2 separate regions of the Homo sapiens genome follow, and region 2 is linked to region 1. Evidence: promoter capture Hi-C in 16 types of primary human blood cells and fetal thymus (Javierre and others, 2016). All regions are on one chromosome and are shown on one strand. Each heading gives the region's core, a stretch centred on a gene start or on the middle of the fragment in contact. The rest is flanking DNA. Distances are from core to core; before and after follow the strand shown. Region 1 holds the start of AP3S2 (adaptor related protein complex 3 subunit sigma 2). Region 2 overlaps IDH2 (isocitrate dehydrogenase (NADP(+)) 2).

The links. The method cuts DNA at HindIII sites, captures the fragments that hold promoters and counts their contacts. A CHiCAGO score of 5 or more calls a contact.
Region 2: a contact is called between a fragment that was not itself captured here and the fragment with the promoter of AP3S2 in region 1, in 2 of 17 cell types (M0 macrophages and M1 macrophages). The highest score is 8.0, in M0 macrophages.

What each region holds. Positions count from the first base shown.
Region 1 is chr15:89,891,002-89,896,825 of GRCh38, forward strand. AP3S2 (adaptor related protein complex 3 subunit sigma 2) reads right to left here and starts at 2,993. Exons shown (of 6, transcript NM_005829.5): 1 at 2,880-2,993. The coding sequence starts at 2,948. All of the region lies in intron 5 of ARPIN-AP3S2 (ARPIN-AP3S2 readthrough), which reads right to left. ARPIN (actin related protein 2/3 complex inhibitor) reads right to left here. Exons shown (of 6, transcript NM_182616.4): 6 at 4,005-5,824. RefSeq lists enhancers at 1,282-2,031, 3,024-3,173, 3,528-4,275. The HindIII fragment of the contact is 43,116 bases long and covers 1-5,824 here.
Region 2 is chr15:90,093,822-90,099,645 of GRCh38, forward strand. The region is part of intron 1 of IDH2 (isocitrate dehydrogenase (NADP(+)) 2); the gene reads right to left. Among named protein-coding and RNA genes, the nearest start is that of IDH2-DT, 5.4 kb to the right of the region's middle. RefSeq lists an enhancer at 1,605-2,129. The HindIII fragment of the contact is 4,798 bases long and covers 1,534-5,824 here.

The DNA.
Region 1 (5,824 bases), core at 1,743-4,242:
GAACTCTATATATGCAAAATACAAAACATGCTAAGCATCAGCACTTTTTAAAACTGACAAAGACATCTTTTGAACTAAAGCCTTTTATCTGACTCTGGGGGAAGTGGCAGCAGTGGGGAAGTGGTACGAAATGATGAGGCTACCTAATTTCTAGTTCAATAAAAAGGTAAACTACCAATTGCTTACATGCCTCAGTGATTTTAATAACCCCTCATATCTTTTTAGTACTCTGTAGTTTTCAAGGTACTTTCATCCATGAGCTCATGAGGTCTTATAAAAATCCTATGATCCAAAGATACACGAATGGGCAATAAGCACATGAAAAGATGCTCAACATCATTAGTCATTTTGGAAACTGAAATCAAAACCACAATGAGCTGGGTGCGGTGGCTCACGCCTGTAATCCCTGCACTTTGGGAGGCCAAGACGGGCAGATTACTTGTGGTCAGGAGTTCGAGACCAGCCTGGCCAACACAGCGAAACCCCATCTCTACTAAAAATACAAAAATTAGCCAGGCATGGTCGTGGGCACCTGTAATCCTAGCTACTCAGGAGACTGAGGCAGGAGAATCACTTGAACCCGGGAGGCAGAGGTTACAGTGAACCGAGATCACGCCACTGCAGCCTGGGAGATAGAGTGAGATTCAGTCTCGGAGGGAAAAAAAAAAGCCACAGTGAGATACCACTTTACACCCACTAAAATGTCTTTAACCAAAAATAAATAAATAAATAACGAATGGCAGGGATGTGAAGAAACTGGAATCATTATACATTGCTGATGGAAATGTAAAATGGTGCAGCCACTTGGAAAATTTGTCAAATAGTTTGCAGTTTCTCAAAATGTTCACCACAGTTACCATATGATCCAGCAATTCTACTCCTAGGTATATAACCAAGAGAAATGAAGTCATAAGTCCACATAAAAACTTGCACAAGAATGTTCATAGCAGCATTAATTAGAAGAGCCAAAAAGCAGAAATATCAACTTATAAATTGACAATCAAAATATGGCATATCCATATAATGGAATATTATTCAGCAATAAAAGAAATGAAGAACATCAGATACATGCTACAACATGGATGAATCTTGAAAACATTATACTACATGAAACATGGCAGACACACAAAAAACCACTTATTTATGATTCCATTTATAGGCAACGGAATAGGCAAATTCCATTTGCCATTCTGGAACTGGCAAATTTAGAGGGAAAGAAACTCTCTGGGGCTGGGAGAGTCATGGAGAAATAGGGAGTGACTGCTAATGGGCAGAGGTTTCTTTTTGGGGTGATGAAAATGATCTAAAATTGATTGTGGTGATGGTTACACAGCTTCTGTGAACATGCTAAAAAACACTGAATTGTCCCCTTTAAATAAGTAAACTGGGGCCGGACACAGTGGCTCATGCCTGTAATCCCAGCACTTTGGGAGGCTGAGTCCGGTGGATTGCTTGAGCCCAGGAGTTCAAGACCAGCCTGGGCAACATAGAAAGACCCCGTCTCTATAAGTAAATAACATAAAATAAATAAGTAAACAGTATGGCATGTTAGTTTTATCTCAGTAACCCTGTTAGAAAAAAACTAGGGGGGAAATTTGCATACACACAAATGCAAATACAAATAGTTACGCTGAATACTCATATACATACATATATATATATACTTTTTTGTGTGTGTGTGTGATGGAGTCTCGCTCTTTCGCCCAGGCTGGAGTGCAGTGGCGCTATCTTGGCTCACTGCAAGCTCCGCCTCCCGGGCTCACGCCATTCTCCTGCCTCAGCCTCCTGAGTAGCTGGGACTTGGAGGTGCCCGCCACCGCGCTTGGCTAATTTTTTGTATTTTTAGTAGAGACGGGGTTTCACCGTGTTAGCCAGGATGGTCTCCATCTCCTGACCTCGTGATCCGCCCGCCTCGGCCTCCCAAAGTGCTGGGATTACAGGCGTGAGCCACCGCGCCCGGCCTGAATACTCATATTTTTACCTCGATGTAATCTACTTAATAAAATGTAATCTAGCTTTAAAAATCTTATGAAGGAGTAAAATTATTTTTTCATTTCTAATTGACAAAAGACAATAAAAGTCTGAAAAGGGTTTATTAACTTGTCAACAGACGCAAGAGTAGAAAAGGTGGAGCTGAAGCCTGAACACGTTTTCTGGCTCTTTCCCCTCTTCAGTTCCACCAGTCCCCCAATTATGTAACATTTTGAAACCCTGCCATGAAGAAATATAATCTTCGAAGACAGGAAGCAAATACTGATGTTTATGTGTTTGCAAAGGAACGTGTTGGGAAAATTCAAATTTACGTAATCACTTATTGAGCCCTTATGCGGCAGCATTTATAATTTCTCATCATTTTTCCACTTTTAAACTGATTTTCTTCAACCCTAAGAGTGAAGGGTATCTAGTCTCTGGAAAGTCCCAGCCAACACTGAAGCAAAATAATTCCAAAAAAAAAAGAACTTTTCCAGTTCTGGCTATAACAAAAACTTTCAGAAACTTAATATTTCTTCCTCATGAAACTGTGGTCAACAACCAAAAAGATGACAGAATGTGACTTCAATCACTCAAGTTCTCATCGAGGCACACTCCCCACTGTCGCTTCTATCTCGTTCCCAGAGACCCACGGGAAAATGTCACAAAATGGCACAGAAATGCCAGGATCAAGAAAAGGGTCAGCGAGAGCGGGGCAGTAGGGCGGGAGACAGAAGGCCTGGCACCAGCCTGCGCCTAGATTAAATGCTTAAGTAGGGCGAGGGTCATGCTCGGTGCAGGAGCCCCAGGTGACCAAAGAGCGGTGCCCCCGGGCGCCGAGAGGCCAAAGAGGAGGGAAGACATAGTGGGCGCCCTGAAGGGGCGTGGTGAAGCCGGGCCGCACTCACGAAACGCTGGTAGAAGCGGACTAGCCGTGGCTTCCCATGGTTGTTGAAAACCAGAATCGCCTGAATCATCTTTGCCAGCCACGGTTCTCTCAGCACCGGCTACTCCCAGAAAGCTCCTCCTTCCGCCACAACACGATCACTTCCGGTTGGTGCGCTGCTGAGAGCGGCACTCGGAAACTTGGCCCCGGCGCTCACGAGCCCTAGCACCCAAGGGTCCGGCCTCTCTGACGCCTTGGAGGGCAGGTGCGGATGCCGAGGAGAGTGGTCACCTCGGCCAGCGTTGGTTGGCCAGTCAGGATGCGAATCCGGATCTATGTCCCTCGCCCAGACCGACGGCTGGCCCCAGAAGCCGAAACGACCGTCAGCCGGGTTGCCAAAACGGAGAGGCGGCGGGAGCTTGCTTTTCTCACCGCCCGCTCCAAATCATGCACTCCCGCCATCCCCTTAGCGCTCGCAGAACGTTCCGCGGAGTGGAGACGCCGGTCATTCGGCCGTTCGTCGGTTATGGAACATTTCGTTCATTTTAATTTTTCAGTATTATAATGCTGCAGTGAATTACGTAGCTGTCTCTCCGTGCAGATGGGCTGTTCCTCTATGGTAGACGGTGAATGGTGGAATTAAGGAATTTTTAGTGCATTTCCATTTAAAATCCCAAATCGATCAAGTTCTTATTTTTGTTTGTTCTTTTAATGACCCAGTGTGGGTGAAGTGGAGCATGTCCGTATACTGCAGATGGAGCAGCGGATACAGATGCAAATCGATCCAGAGGACTGTTTGGCGATATGGATCAGAAGCCTTTAAAATATATAACAGTCCGGGCGCGGTGGCTCACGCCTGTAATCCCAGCACTTTGGGAGGCCGAGGCGGGCGGCTCACTTGAGGTCAGCAGTTCGAGACCAGCCTGGCCAACAAGGTGAAACCCCGCCTCTACTAAAATTACAAAAATTAGCCGGTTGTGGTGGCGCGCGCCTGTAGTCCCAGATACTTGGGAGACTGAGGCAGGAGAATGGCTTGAACCCGGGAGGCGGAGGTTGCAGTGAGCTGAGATCACACCACACTGCACTCCAGCCTGGGTGACAGATATATAACATATATATATATATATATAAAACATTAGACTCAGCGTTTCCAGCTCTAGAATTTATGATAAAATGATTGTGGATGTGTGAAAAGATTTAGCCTGAGGAACATACATTTCTGCCAGAGTATCTTCAGAACAGTAAAAAAAAGAAGAAAAAAATATATATCTCAGCAGTGTTATTACAGGGGAAAATGGGAAGAAAATTATTACAAAAATGAGAAATTGGTTAAGTGCATTGTTCTACATTGAATATGAGAAATATTAAATAGATAATAAAAATCATGCTGGGAAAGATTTATGATACGGAAGTGTTCATGACACCTGTTAAGCTAAAAGATTACACAAAGTATGTACAGGGACAACCCACTTTGCTCAAGATTGGAGGCAAATACACCAAAATATGAATCATGTATCTGATGGAATGGCAGAGTCAGGGTGTTTGATCTGTACAGGACCCTGGAACCACACTGCCCTGATTCAAAGCATGGTTCTGCGGACTGCCTGGGCACCCTGGGCAAGTTTCCCCATCTGTAGAAAAGGTGTAATATCAGTTTCCTAAACTGGAAAACTGGAAAATGAGTCTACTGACTTCAGACAGTTGTTATAAACACAAAGGGAGTTAGTATAATATTTGTAAGCACTTGGACAGTGCATGGCACATAACTGAGTACCACATAAGTGATTTAAAAACATCTTTGGGTGGTAGGATTATCAAGTTTTCCTTTTTTTCCTTCAAAGAAATATGTACTACTTTTGCAGCCAGAGTTCTGGGGTTTGCTTGTTTGTTTTTCAGAGATAGGGTCTTACCCAGGTTGGAGTGCAGTGGCACAGTCATACCTCACTGTAACCTCAAACTGCTGGCCTCAGGCAATCCTCCAGCCTCAGTCTCCCAAACCGCCACCACGCCTAGTCCAGTTTTTTGTTTGTTTGTTTGTTTGTTTGTTTGAGATGGAGTCTCACTCTGTTGCCCAGGCTGGAGTGCAGTGGCACAATCTTGGCTCACTGCAACCTCCGTCTCCCGGGTTCAAACAATTCTCCTGCTTCAGCCTCCCCAGTAGCTGGGATTACAGGCACATGCCACCATGCCCAGCAAATTTTTGTATTTTTAGTAGAGATGGGGTTTCACCACATTGGCCAGTCTGGTCTCAAACTCCTGACCTCAAGTGATTCACCCATCTCAGTCTCCCGAAGTGCTGGGATTACAGGCGTGAGCCACTGCGCCCGGCATGGCCCAGTTTTTAAATAAATAAAAACCAAAAGTCAGTTGCACTGAAACTTGACAAAATGTTTAAAATGTTGAGGAAGAATATCAAAGAAAATTCTGAAACAGAATTATGAAGAAGAACTAGCTCTGCCAACTATGAAAACCTACTTTGATGGTTCAAATTGTAATTATAGGAAGAATAACTGAAATATTATAAATAATTTAGGCATAAAATAATTTTAATATGTGATGTAGGAGTGGGAAGGAATTCAGTAAATACTATTAGGATAACTGGTTAGCAATTTGAAAATAAGTAGTTAGGTATAAAACCAGATAATAACCTAAACAGAAGAAAGCGAAATTGAATAAGATCCAAAAATCTGTATTAGCTTAGAAGCAATAAAAATCACAAAACATCAACAGATATATAAAGTTTTTTTATAAAAAGAATTATTTAATGGAAAAATCGTTGTTAAAATATGGCAAATGGTTATATTTAAAATGCAAATAACTGATAAACTAAAAAGATAACACTCCCCATCTCCCCAGTAGATAAATGGACGAAAGAACGAATAACAAAGGGAGAAATACAGCTAGGAAAAGGAAAAAATGTTTAAGCTCACTATAAGTGGGGGAAAGGCAAATTAAAATATATTCAAA
Region 2 (5,824 bases), core at 2,683-5,182, 200 kb after region 1:
GTTGGCCAGGCTGGTCTCGAACTCCTAGCCTCAGGTGATCCACCCACTTTGGCCTCCCAAAGTGCTGGGATTACAGGCGTGAGCCACCACGCCTGGCCATTATCTCCATTTTAAGTGTGGGAAACTGAGGCTCAGAGAGGTTAACAGCTTACTGCCCAAGGTTACAGAGCTTGAAAACAGCAGAGTCACGAGGACTCTGACCCTATTCAACAGGAAGGACAGGCTTACAGCACCTGCGAATGGAACTCAGAACCCTTGATCCCAGCCGACGCAGGTGGGTCAGTCCTACCAGAGAAGCATCAAAGGACTCAATGAGGGGCTGATCAGAGGTCCAGGGAGACCAGTGGAGGGTAGGGGGCAGGGGACGCTACTGAAGGAGAGTCTGACTCGCAGGAATACCCAACAGTCTGGGAAGTGAATTTCAAAGAAAACTCAGGAACTGGCCACCTAACAATGAATCAGTACAGCTGCCTTGGACAAGGCTTGTTGAACCTCAGCCTGCAGCAGATAGGGGCACCGGGGCACCAGCCTGCTCCTCTGCCCACAGCCTGGGAAGAAGCAGCAAATGCAGAGCAGGGAACAAGATCTAATAAAACTTCAGTCACAGGGAAATCTCACCAGCTCAGCTGAGAGCTGTGCCCTTTCCTCAAAGCAGCACTCCTCAGCCTCACTTACAGCCCAATTACTCTTGTGTTACACACAGTCCTTAGAGAGGTGGTGATGTGTCTTCAGCTCCACTCTAGATTAGACACAGCAAATCAGGTGAAGGGAAGAGAATGATTATTTGAAAACACTGGGTTGGGGCTGGGTGTAATGGCTCATGCCTGTAATCCTAGCACTTTGGGAGGCTGAGGCAGGTGGATCACTCAAGGTAAGGAGTTCAAGACCAGCCTGGCCAACATGGTGAAACCCCATCTCTACTAAAAATAGAAAAATTAGGCATGGTGGCACGTGCCTATAATCCCAGCTACCGAGGAGGCTGAGGCAGGAGAATCGCTTGAACCCGGGAGGTGGAGGTTGCAGTAAGCCAAGATCACGGCACTGCACTCCAGCCTGGGCAACAGAACGAGACTCCATCTCAAAAAAACAAACAAACAAACAAAAAAAACTGGGTGGGAAGAACTGACAAGGGACAGAATACCTGTGAAAAGCAGGCCTAGAAACCACCTCGGCACATTTAAAACAAAAGTGATTAAAGCCTAACAGACCTCAAACAACTGACTTTCCAAAGATATGCAAAGAGTTTGTTTTTTTTTTTTAATCTAAAAATAATCTTAGAGATCATTTAGGGGGAATAATGAGACTCAGAGAGTGTGGTCTGCATCAGAGGCAAGATAGAGCCCAGGTCCCTGACCCAAATGCAGCCTCTGGAAGACCCGTGGGTCAGATGTAGAGAAGCAGAACACAAACACAGCCTTGGACTATTCCATTCCCTAGAGAACAAAAGGTGGCTGGCTGCTGGCTCTACTGCCTTTCCCAAGACGCGATGGGGATTTTGAACCCAATCTACAATATTCCTTCACTTTTTTCTGAAGCTTGAGTGGAAAGAGCTGCAGAACCTGCGGAAAGTCTGTTGAGCTGTTGCAGAGCTAGTTTAGTTCTGGGGAGCATCTCCTATGAGTTAATTTGAGGACAGCTAATCAAATTTGTTAAAAAAAAAAAAAAATGAACTATCATAATCAGGAGCCCTAAGGAGAGACTCACTTGGGGCCAGTTCTTCAGGTTTCAGCCTCAGCCTGGGCTCCACGGTTGGGCTTCAGGCAGGCATGGCTAGGAGAGTTCAAGGTCAAGATCAAAGACCTGATGTGTCAAACCCTCAGAGACCACAGGACCTGATTATTTACTCACCGGCAGGTGCTAACTAAGCACTTATCCAGTACCCCACTGGGATACTGAAATGCCTAAAACACAACAGTGCCTGCCCGGAGGCAGTGAATGTGGAAGGGGAAACCTACAGGTAACAGAGAGAGAGCAAGCAGGGCTGTCACCAAAGTCAGGAGTGCCCAGGCCTCCCTGGAAGCAAACATCCCAGGGGAACTGAGAACAGCAACATGAGCCAAGGCCAGCAGAGACTTGTTCTGCTTGTTCCAGGTACTGGTTTTTTAAAAAAATCTTAATTGGTGACCAAGTTTTAAAAATCAGTAAATCTCAACAATAAAACAAATAACTCAACGTTAAAATGGACAGAAGACTGGCTGGGCACCGTGGCTCATGCCTGTAATCCCAGCACTTTGGAAGGCTGAAGAGGGCAGATCACTTGAGGTCAGGAGTTCGAGACCAGCCTGGCCACAATGGTGAAACTCTGTGTCTACTAAAAATAGAAAAAAAATTAGCCTGGTGTGGTGACACACACCTGTAGTCCCAGCTATTTGGGAGGCTGAGGCAGGAGAATTGCTTGAACCCAGGAGGTGGAGGTTGCAGTGAGCAGAGATCATGCCACTGCACTCCAGCCTGGGTAACAGGAAGACTCCATCTCAAAATAAATAAATAAATATAATGGACAAAAGACTTAAATAGACATTTCAAGTCCAAAGATGATATACAAATGGCCAACAAGCACATGAAAAGATGCTCAACATCACTAATCATCAGGGAAATGCAAATCAAAACCATAATGAGATATCACCCCACTATCCCCTCACAACCACTAAGAGAGCTACTATCAGGAAAAGAAAAACAAAACAGAAAATAAAGTGCTAGCAAGGATGTGGAGAAATTGGAACTCTTGTGCCCTGTTGGTGGGAATGTGAAATGGTGCAGCTGCTGTGGAAAACAGTATGGGTGTTCCTTAGCTAAAAGGAAAAGAATTACTGCCGGGCACGGTGGCTCGCACCTGTAATCCCAGCACTGTGGAAGGCTGAGGCGGGTGGATCACGAGGTCAGAAGATCGAGACCATCCTGGCTAACACAGTGAAACCCTGACTCTACTAAAAATACAAAAAATTAGCCAGGCGTGGTGGCAGGCGCCTGTAGTCCCAGCTACTGGGGAGGCTGAGGCAGGAGAATGGCATGAACCCGGGAGGCGGAGCTTGCAGTGAGCTGAGATCGCGCCACTGCACTCCAGCATGGGCGAAAGAGAGCAAGACTCCGTCTCGAAAAAAAAAAAGAAAAGAAAAGGACAAGAATTACTATATGATCCAGCAATTCTGCTTCTGTATATACATCCAAAAATATCGAAAGCGGGGTCTGAAAGAGATATATGTATGCCCACATTCATAGCAGCAATGTTCACAACAGCAAAAGATAGAAGCAACCCACGTGTCCATCACAGATGAATGGATAAAGACAATGTGATACAGTCCCCCCTTATCAAAGGTTTTATTTCCATGACGTCAGTTACCTGTGGTGTCAGTTACCCACAGTCAACCATAGTCTGAAAATAGGTGAGTACAGTACAGTAAGATATTTTAAGAGATCACATTCATGTAACTTTCATTACAGTATATTGTTATAATTGTTCTATTTTATTACTAGTTATTATTGCTAATCTCTTACTGTTCCTAATTCATAAATTAAACTTTATCATAGATCTGTATGTATAGGAAAAAAACATAGTATCTACAGGCTTTGCAGTTTCAGGTATCCACTGGGGATCTTGAAATGCATCCTCCAAGGATAAGGGGGACTACTGTTATCTACATACAATGGAATATGATTCAGCCTTGAAAAGAAGGGAAATTCTGACACCTGCTACAAAGTGGATGAACCTGGGGGGCATTATGCTAACTAAGTGAAATAAACCAGTCACAAAAGACAAATACTATATGCTTCTACTTACATGAGGTACCTAGAATAGTCAAATTCATAGAAACAGAAAGTAAAAAGGTGGCTGCCAGGGACTGGGGACGGGAAGTGGGGAGGTATTGTTTCATGGGTAGAGAGTTTCGGTTTTGCAAGGTGACAAAGTTCTGGTGATGGATGGTGGTAATGTCTGCACAACAGTGCGAATGTACTTAACAATACTGTACACTGAACAATGACTAAGATGGTAAGTTTTATACGTTTTTTACCAAAATAATAAAAATTTAAACCAGTCAAAAAAAATCAGGAGATTTTATATAAAAATCTAGAAATGCAGCAGGCACTCACTCATGGCAAGGATGGGCTGGGCTGAAGGCGGCCTCTCCCTTCACTCCATGACAGCCAAGTGCCCTCCAGTGTGGCCCAGGGCACTGGAGTTTGAGACCCCTGTCTGCTGTTCAGCCTGTATGGTGGAGATACAGCCATGGTCTGCCCTTCTCTGAGAGATAAGTGGTGACAAGCTACCTGAAATACACAGAGCAGCAGCTAGGCCTCCCTGAAAACCTCCGAAGTGACAGCCACCACGAATCTTCAGCTGATGCATTGCACAAACACTGTCCTCTTGGCGAGAGTGCAGGATGGAATTACACCAGTCACCAGAGGCACGTTAGGCTGACTCTCCTCCCTGTCTGGGGCTCCTAGCACCCAATACCAAGTAAGGATTTCAAAACACATCCCTGGCTTCTTGCTGCTCCCAGCAGGAGGCTAGAGGTCCAGCCGCAGGCAGCCAGCCCCAGGCATAACTGCTCCCTCCACATTCCTACCCATGCTCTCAGCAGAAAGGCTGCTCAGTCAGCATGTCCCAGCAAAAGATCAGAGAGTGGGGAAAGGTTCCAATTCCTGGGGGCTCAAGAAGGCAGGACAGCAACTTTGTATATTTTATGTATGTATGTATGTATGTATGCATGCATGTATGTATGTATGTATGTATGTATGTATTGAGACAGAGTCTCACTCTGTCGCCTACACTGGAGGGCAGTGGCGTGATCTCGGCTCACTGCAAGCTCCACCTCCTGGGTTCAGGCAATTCTCCTGCCTCAGCCCCTGAGTAGCTGGGACTACAGGCGCCTGCCACCACACCCAGCTAATTTTTGTATTTTTAGTAGAGACCGGGTTTCACCATGGTGGCCAGGCAGGTCTCGAACTCCTGGCCCCAACTGATCCGCCTGCTTCGGCCTCCCAAAGTCCTGGGAGCCACCGCACGCGGCCAGAACAGCCATTTTGGAACAAACTCTAGTAGACTCCTTGGTGTCATCCTTCATTCCTTCCCTTCTCTCACATCCAAACCACCAAAACCAGAAGCCACCCTCAGACAAGCCCACCCTTGCCATAAGTGAGTGCCTGCTGCGTATCTAGATTTTTATGTAAAATCGCCTGAATTGGAACCTTTCCCCACTACTGGCTCCTCCTTCAAAATATATCCAGAATCCAACCACTTCTTCACCATCCCCAGCGCCACCACCCAGGTCCAAGCCATCATCCTCTCTTGCCAGGTCCCTGAAGCTAGAATGCTCCCGATAAGATGGAAATCAGGTAACGATACTCCTCTCAAAACCCTGCAAAGTAAAAGCGAAAGCTCTCAAAAATGGCCTGTGAGCCCTCTACAGACCCCACTGCCGAACCTCATCCTGTCACTCCACCTGGTGCCTGCTGAGCCAGCCTTCGCACCATCCTCTCTGCTCTTCCATCATGCCCTTGGCACCTGCGAGTCCCTCTTCCCCCAATACCGAAAATGGCCTGCTTCCTCCCCTCCTCAGCGATTCCTTCAGTGAGGACTTTTCTGGCTGCCCTATACAAACTTTTGTGCACACACCTTTCTTGCCTGTTTCTCCTTAGCTCTTCTCTTTTTGGGGGGAGAAGGGGGAGGCAGGGTCTTGCTTTGTCACCCAGGCTAGAGTGCAGTGGCACAATTGTACCTCACTGCAGCCTTGACCTCCTGGGCTCAAATGATCCTCCTGAGTAGCTAAGACCACAGACATGCACCATCGTGCCTGGCTAATTTTATTTTTTATTTTTGTAGAGA